2 separate regions of the Homo sapiens genome follow, and region 2 is linked to region 1. Evidence: promoter capture Hi-C in 16 types of primary human blood cells and fetal thymus (Javierre and others, 2016). All regions are on one chromosome and are shown on one strand. Each heading gives the region's core, a stretch centred on a gene start or on the middle of the fragment in contact. The rest is flanking DNA. Distances are from core to core; before and after follow the strand shown.

Region 1 (4,081 bases), core at 338-2,837:
TTGTGGCTGCCTTAGCCCTGCCACAACTCTGCAAGTATAGTCATGTGTCACTTAACAACAGGGATATGTTCTGAGAAATGCGTTCTTAAGCAATTTTGTTGTTGTGTGCATATCATAGCGTGTACTTGCACAAACCTAGATGGTCTAGCCTGCTACACTCCTATGCCATACGGTGTGGCCTATTGCTCCTAGACTACAAACCTGTACAGCACATGACTGTACTGAATATTGTACGCAACTGTAACACAATGCATTTCGGTACTAGACATGTCTAGACGTAGAAAAGGTAAAGTAAAAATATGGTATTATAATCTTATGGGACCATCGTTGCATATGTGGTCCACTGATGACCAAAATGTCATGATGTGACACATGACTGTAGCCCCTTTATCCACCTCTTCTGTTACCCCTCCGAGGGGCCTCTGTCTCCTGCCGGGCTCTGGCTGACATGCCCCGTCCCTGCCATCCCCTGATGGCCCCATACTCACTCCCAGAACTCCACCACAGCGCTGGTCATGTTGGTAGTGTTGACCATGCTGTAGTTGGAGAAGCAGCGGTCTGTGTTCCAGGGGTTGTCGCACTGTTTCCACGGCAGTGTCTGCAAGGACACAGTCATGAGGACGCATCCTGCTGGGCTCCCAGGGGCTGGCATGAGTGGTCCCAGTGCACCCTGCCCACCCTCATGGTCCCCAAGCCTCCTCACACCTCCCCTTCGCAGCAGCTCTGGGAGGCAAGTAGCATTATGATCCCCATTTGACAGATCAGAGAGGGACAGTGACTTGCTTGAGAATGCACAGCTACTAAGTGCCAGAGCTGAGATTTGAACCTCAACCTGTTCACTGTGAGAACAGCCTTCCAAGCTGCAGCCGGGGCTACTTCCCCACCATGTGACCTTGGGCAAGAGACCTTGCCCATCTAACTCTCACTGCAACGACACCAGCAAACACTTACAGGGCTTGTTCTCTGCCAGGCGCAGTTCTAAGTTCCTTACACATATCTGCTCCTTAATCCTCACAAGAACCCTATGAGGTGGGTTTCACTTTTTGTTTTCTTTCATTTTTTAATTTTGATAAAATACACACAACATTTACCATCTTAACTATTGGTGCCTGTACAATTTAGAAGCATTAAGTATACCCATAATGTAGCTCCCTGAACCCTGCCACACCTCTGCAAATACAGTCATGTGTCACTTAACAATGGGAGTACATTGTGAGAAATGTATTGCCTAACATTGTCAGCATCCAGCTCCAGAACTTTTTTCATTTTGCAAAACTGCAACTCCACCCACTAAACAACAACTCCTCATCCCCCTACCCACAACCCCTGGCAACCATCATTCTACTTTCTGTCTCTATAAATTTGATTACTCTAGGGAACTCATATAAGCAAGATCAAACACTATTTGTATTTTTGTGACCGGCTTATTTCACTTGACATAATATCCTCAAGGTCCATCCATGTTGATGCATGCGTCAGAATTTCCTTCCTTTTAAGGCTGAATTACATTCCATTGTATGTATAGACCACATTTTGCTTACCAATTCATTTATCAGTGAACGCTTGGCTTGCTTCCACCTTTTGCCTACTGTGAATAGTGCTGCTGTGAACAGGAGTGTACAAATATCTCTTTGAGAGCTGCTTGTAATTCTTCAGGTATCTACTCAGAAGCAGAATTGCTGGATCATATGGTAATTCTATGTTTAATTTTTTGAGGAACTGGGGCAGGTTCTAATTTTATTTCCATTTTATAAATGAGGGCACTGAGACTCAGAGAGGTTAAGTCTCTTTTCTGAAGTTGCACAGCTGGTATATAGTAGAGTCAGGATTTGAACCCAGGCTGTCTGTGTCCATATAAAATGTGCTAACAATACGCACTTTAGAGGGGTGTCATGAGGATTGGATGTGAGCCTGCAAGGAGTGCCTGTCTCACAGGAGATGCTAAATTTGTGAGGCTATGGCTGTTGTGGGGAGACCAAGGCCCACAAAAGACAAACCAAGTTCCCCACTCCTGGAGGAATGGCCTTGTCAGCAGAGTGGTGGCCGTGGTGGGCCAAGGGTGGGCTCTGGGTGTGGCTTCTGCTGGATGGGGTGGTCAAAGGGACCACTCACCGTGGTGAAGGAGTTGTACAGGTAGTAAATGGCCCAGGAGATGATGACGATGTAGTAGATGTTCAGCCAGAATGATAGCACAGCAGCCGCAAGGCCCACGCCTGGGAGCGGAACACAGACACGCGTCCATTTAATACGGAATTAACATGAACTGTCGTGGCATGTTCCATGACCTCTACAATCTTATTGATCTCGGAGACAGGCATTACTGAGGACACTGAGGCTAAGAGAGAGGCAGTGACTTGCTGAAGGTCATGTACATCTGACAAGCCAGGGGGCCAGGACTCATGTCTGGGGCCCAGTGCAGACTGGTGGCAGGCAGGGCTGGGGTCTCAGCTTGCCGGACGAGGTGAGGCCCAGGCCCTCGGTCAGTGAGCATGACTCACCATGTATCTACCTGGGTGCCTGTCAGGCACTGAGCACGAGGCAAAGAAAGTCACACCCAGCCCTTGCAGAGGAAATAGATGGGCTAACAGGACAGAGCAGGCTGATGTGCGGGGGACTCTGGATTGGGCCTCTCCACCTCCACCTCCCTAGCTTCTGACCAGCACTGTCATCTGCCACCTGGCCCCTTGCAACAGCCCTCACTCTGCTCAGATATGCACCTGGTGGATGGATATGTGATGTCAGCCCTGGTCTGGGTAGACAGCTCGCTCTCTCCAGAGGGCAAGAGGTGTGTGTGGGCAGGGGCACCACCACCCAGGTCCCTGATCTGCAGACTTACCCTTGAACATAGGAGCCAGCTTCCATACCCCTAGCCCCCCGATGGAGGTGTACTGGCCCAGGGAGCACTCCAGCAGGAAGAGTGGGACCCCCGCAAAGATGAGTGTCAGGAAATAGGGGATCAGGAAGGCTCCTGCAGGTAAAGAAGACAGAGCTCGTGGCCCCAAGACTTTCAAGACCCGCCCTGGTAGAGGGAGTGTCGTGGGTCTGGGTCCCCATCCAGTATTTCTTTATACCTGCCTCAAAAGCAGGACCCACAGCCAACCACAGGCCCAAGGAAAGCCATATGTGAAATACATCCCATTTTTTGCAGGTGAATAGATGAATTTCTTGGTATCATTAACAGAGGACAATTGTCCTTCAGGAATCTTTTGATAAAGGGACAAGAAACAAGAAATGGGGCCTGGTGCTCCCTCTGGAGTCTTTAGGGGGGCTTTTCTCCTACAGTTGCCCCAGAAAAATGCCTAAGCAGGATCCTTTTTGCAGGGTCCAGACCCAGCCAGGAGGTCCCCGGGCCAGCACCTACCCCCACCATTTTTCCCGCAGAGATAGGGGAACCTCCAGACGTTGCCCAGGCCGATGGCATAGCCCACACAGGACATGAGGAAGTCGAAGCGGCCCTTCCACGTGTCCCGGTCGGGGAGGTCTGCCGCCTTCTTCTGCACCTTGACCACCAAGGTTTTGGGCTTGTCATTGGCCACAGGGGCCTCGCTGACCTCGGTGGAGATCTGCCCGTCGGCCACCTTGCTGCCGTTGGTCGCCATGTCTCGGAATTTGGACGCAGGGGTCCTGGCAGATGGACGTGCGATGTCACCCCCGGTCCACGTGGACAGCAGTTTTGCGGCTCAAGGGCACCCTAGGAGGACGGGGTGGGTAACAGGCACAGAAAGAGAGTAGGACCTTGGAGTTGCCTCACCCTAAAATGACAAAAACAAAATAACCCATAAACAAGCTAGGGGCTTGAAAAGGCTCTCTATAAGCCCTCTTCCTCTCACCCGCCCTTGCTCCTGGAGGAAGGAAGGTGACTTTTGTTTCCAAAGACACAGCGATGTTTCCTGGCCTAGCTTCAACTCTGGCCATCTGTGTCCAACCCTCTGTTGTATGTCCTGCTCAGAGGAGAAATCTGAGGCCACCAAACTTCCAACAGGAAATGTTAAGTACTTAATCATAAAATCTTTAACTTTGCCTCCAAGGATGCAATTGGGAGCCTTGTCACACTCTGCGGCCATACTAGCCATCGCCAGGG
Region 2 (4,419 bases), core at 1,911-4,410, 260 kb after region 1:
CTGAATATATGCGTTGGGTGAGAGACGAGTGGCAATGATAGGAGTGCCCTCCTGTTCCCTGGACACAAATCACCCTGCACCACCAGCACAAGGTCACCCAGCCCTCAGTCATGATGGTTCCCAGTGAAGGGGACCAGGCTATAGAGGCACTCTGCACCCCCTGAGCTGACATGGTGGGCTTAGGGTCTGGGCCGTGATGCAGGGGCTTTCCTCTTCTTGGGATGCTCACACTGGTCTTAACACACTGGCCTCGCTGGCATGAGGGCCAGCCTGAACAGTGGGAAGAGAAACAGCATGAGTGTGGTGGCCTTCAAGGCAGTGAATCTCAGATGTCAATGTGCACAGGACTTCCGAGGGGGAAGTGCATTGTGAAAATGTGGGTTCTGACTCAGTAGTTCTGGGCTGGGACCTGCCATCCAGCTTTTCTAAAGCTCCCAGGTCACCCTGATGCTCTTCATTCAAGACCTCACTTTGAGTATCAAGGTTTCAAGAAAAGCAGGCTGAATTTATCTCCCAGGTGCACTGAGGGCTCATTGCAGCAGGTCTGGCATCAGCCTGGGCTGTTTTGCTGAAGTAAGAGATGTGCCTGCACAGCATGGACCCCTGGGCAAGGCATGAAGGGTACTGACTGGTGGCCATGGGTGGAGACAAGTTTCAGGGTGTCTGATATCAGCTTGTCAGCATTGTTTGAGGGTCACAATGAGACTGATGACCTGCAACTGGCCTCAGGGGCTCCCTCAGGGAGCCCTGTGCAGTGCCAGGGCTGGTAACGCAGCATGTGTGCCTACACGATGAGCCCTCCATTGTGTGCTTCCTGATTCTAATATCTCAGGTGCATCAGTAGATCCTGATCTGAAAGAACAAGCACATGGTCGTTCCACATCAGTGTAACAACTGGAGCTCTCCCCTGACTCTCAGAACCCCTCACTATGAGGCAGCCTTTGGCCCTGATGCATATCCTCATTTTAATGGTCTTAATATCTTGTATTTTTTTCCTGAAATAAATCTTAGCTTGGTCAGCATAGCCATGTAAGGTCCTGGGAGTTTTACTTGTACTGGAACTCAATCTAACTTCCACCGTTAGTGCAATATGGATTAAAAAACTGCTTCCTGTGGGCAGGACACTGTGCTCAGCTCAGTGGACTTAGAAGTGGTTACAATTCCATTCTCTGCTCTCCCAGGAGAGCTGCAATTCACAGCCTTGGCTACACTGGTGTCGTCTGGGGAGCTTTAAAAGCTACTAAGGCCTGAGCTCCATCCCCAGAAACTACCAGTGGAATATTGGTCTTGAGGTTTTTAAAAGCTCCCCAAGTGGTCCTAATATGAAACCAAAGGTGCAAACCACTCATAGATAATGAACACAAAGCAGTAATGGTCTTAGAAGACCAGGTTGAGAATGGAACTAAGCCACTACCACTGTCTGGACCTTTGCGAAGTCCTGTCCCAAGGGTACAGTTATTGGTGTTAAATTTCCTACTCAAGGCTAGAGGTCAGCTGTGGAAGTCTTTCGTCTTTGAGGCACTGGTTGCCTTCCAAATGAGCGTCCAGGAAGACGGTCAATGCTCAACCCAAAAAACCCCTGCTGTCTGCAAGGGTGGAATTTCTGACCTCATCACGCCTGGGTGAGGGGACACTTGCAAACAAGGATCACATTTTTATGCTTCTCGTGACACACACTGGGGATAAAACTCAATGCCAGACACATTTAAGGGAATCCTGCAGGCCTCAAGAGATGTACCACCTGGGATTAATGAGAGCTTTACTTTGAGACTTGAGTCTCTCTTCCAAATTTCGAAGCTTCTCATGCCCATCACAGCTCTGGGTTTTGCATATTTGCTATTGACCTTGAGCAAGCCATTTTCTCTCTAAGCTGTATTGGCATCACAATCCAGCTATCTTGAATTGCTAGGCATCAGGGCCTCACAACCTCTGTAGCCACAGTCAACTACCACGTAGTGATGAGCCCCAGAAGGAACTAAGCTGTAGCCAGGCAAGAAGCAAAGCAAATTTTGGAACAAGTAGGGGCTCATACTTTCTCCAACCTGCAAGGAGTCAATCGTTGTCCAGTGAGCTATGATAAGCACCATGACAGTTAATCAGACAGTGAGCCATTTATTGGTTTTTATGTAGCTCTTTCACATTGCAGGCTTTCTACTGGGGAAAGAGGAAAAGGAAGATAGGGTAGAGTACAAAGAACTGCAAAGCCTAGATTCTTTGTGGACCACTCTTCTGGTGCCATTAGATGGGAATACCTTGCGGGAACCCCAAAAGATCCATTGCTGCTCTCTGAGGAGGAGTTAGAGTCAAACAGACTCTTAAACCCTTTGCACATTTGGTTTCTCTTGAGAATGTGAGGCATCGTTGTGGTAGGCCATTTTGTGTCACTATAAAAGAATACCTGAGACTGGGCAATGTACAAAGAAAACAGGTTTAACTGACTCCTGTTTCTGGAGGCTGTATGAGAAGCATGGTACCAACATCTGCTTGGCTTCTAGTGAGGCCTCAGGAAGCTTAAAATCATGGCGGAAGGCAGCAGGGAGCCAGCATGTGACATGGTGAGAGTGGGCACAAGAAGTGGTGGGGGGAGGTGCCATGCTCTTTTGAACAATCAGATCTCTCATGAACTACCAGAGCGAGAACTCACTCATCACCAGGAGGATGGTGCTAAACCATTTATGAGACATCCGCCTCCCTGATCCAATCACCTCCCGCCAGGCCCCACTTCCAACTTTAGAGATCACATTTCAACCTGAGATTTGGAGAGAACACACATCCAAATCATATGGAACATTTTAGGGGTAACTTTGTCTAGTTCATTTCACTTCTCTGGGGCTCTAGAACCAAATACACACGCTACTCACAGAATGTGAGCCATTTATTGTTTCTTTTAGTAGCTCTTCCATTGTAGGCTTTCTGGTGTTAAATTTCCTCCCCGAGGTTAGAGACCAGCTTTGGAACCAGAACTTGACCACTGATCATGTGATGTAGTCAGATTTGAGGTTGGAATCTCAGAGGGAAGTCAGTGACAGCCACTTTCCGCCCCAACACTCCAAGATTCTATTTTTTAGCCTCTGCGTCCTTGGATAACACAAGTTCTCAACAGAGTGGAAGGCATCCCTTCCTTTAAAAGTCAGAAGGGGGTTTGAGAAAGGAGACTTCTCCCGACTTGGCCAGATTTGCTGCATGGTGCAGAACACTGAACATCCAGCTGGCTCGGAGCTCTCCAGGGTCCTGACGGGTCCTGGCTTGGGTTCTCTGTGCCCGAGGCTGGCTCCTCCTCCCTGGCCCACCTCTTCCCCTGAAGGTGACTCCTCAGTTGCAGGTTCTGGAGAGCAGAATGCAGGACTGGGGCAACCTTGCCATGTCACCCTGGAAAACATCTATAAACCTATGTTTAATCAGTTTAAACCTAGTTACTCCCTGTCCCCAATGCTTTTATGACTTATTGAACAAATATTTTCCAGCTAGGTCTGGAAGTTTTTGGCTTTTTATTCTTTGATTGCATTTGTCCTCCGAGTAACACCTTCTCCTCTTCTCCTCTTCTCCTTCTCTTCTCCCTCTTGCCTCTCTCTCTCTCTCTTTTTAACCTTTTTCTTCTCTTCTCAGATTGAGTGTCTCCTTCTTCCAGGGGTAGAAAGAAACACGTTCTAATTATCTTCTGCAAAAATGATTCTCATAGACCTCACTGTATTCACATTCTGAATTTGAACTTGAATAATCCTGAAGTTCTCCATTCTAGAAAAACCTTATTTCTCCATAAGCTGCCATGTTGTTAGAAAACTGTCTTGCCCTTTGGGGATGAAAGCTTGACTGAAATGGATTGGCCCCATTTCCTACAATTGACCCCATAGCCCACCTTAGGCAAAGTGGAGGATCTTGGGTGCAACATCCACTCATTCAACAAACACGCACGGAGGCTCTTCTATGTGCCGGGCACTGCTCTCCACACAAGAAATGCAGCTGTGAACAAGACAGACACAAATCCCCACCCTTGGGGAGCAGCCACGCTCATGCAGGAGATGGGAGTGTATGCTGTGATACAGAGGGAAGCCTTCCCACTGTGGGATGAAGTAGAGAAATTGTTTATCTAAGAAATGAATGAGAGAGAGCTCTAGAAAAAGCACACATCCTTCCTCAGAACCCAAGAATAAAATATTCCCAAACATCTAAACTGATCTCAAAGTGTGCCGGTGTTGGCTGCAGTTTTGGATTTATTTCCATCCTGATGGGTGGGACCAAGGCTGGGAGCCTCCTCATTGGAGGAAGTCAGGGGAAGTGACAGGCCACAGGAGAAAACAAGGGGGAAAGGTTCCCTCCTCTGAAATCTTTTACTTGTTCCAGATGTCAGAGCACTGGGGAGAGAGGAGGAAGCGCAAAGAGGGAGAATGTTTGTGGCCAGTGGAGCTTTCAAGGGGTGAA

The links. The method cuts DNA at HindIII sites, captures the fragments that hold promoters and counts their contacts. A CHiCAGO score of 5 or more calls a contact.
Region 2: a fragment that was not itself captured here is called in contact with the fragment with the promoter of SLC6A1-AS1 in region 1 in 1 of 17 cell types (M1 macrophages); the score reaches 5.1 in M1 macrophages.

What each region holds. Positions count from the first base shown.
Region 1 is chr3:11,016,730-11,020,810 of GRCh38, reverse strand. It overlaps SLC6A1-AS1 (SLC6A1 antisense RNA 1), which reads left to right and starts at 1,587. Exons shown (of 3, transcript NR_046647.1): 1 at 1,587-1,691. SLC6A1 (solute carrier family 6 member 1) reads right to left here. Exons shown (of 16, transcript NM_003042.4): 3 at 3,362-3,752; 4 at 2,837-2,968; 5 at 2,113-2,213; 6 at 489-598. The coding sequence starts at 3,599. The HindIII fragment of the contact is 14,538 bases long and covers 1-4,081 here.
Region 2 is chr3:10,752,979-10,757,397 of GRCh38, reverse strand. No RefSeq gene overlaps it. Among named protein-coding and RNA genes, the nearest start is that of LINC00606, 9.0 kb to the left of the region's middle. RefSeq lists a silencer at 3,137-3,337. The HindIII fragment of the contact is 1,295 bases long and covers 2,513-3,807 here.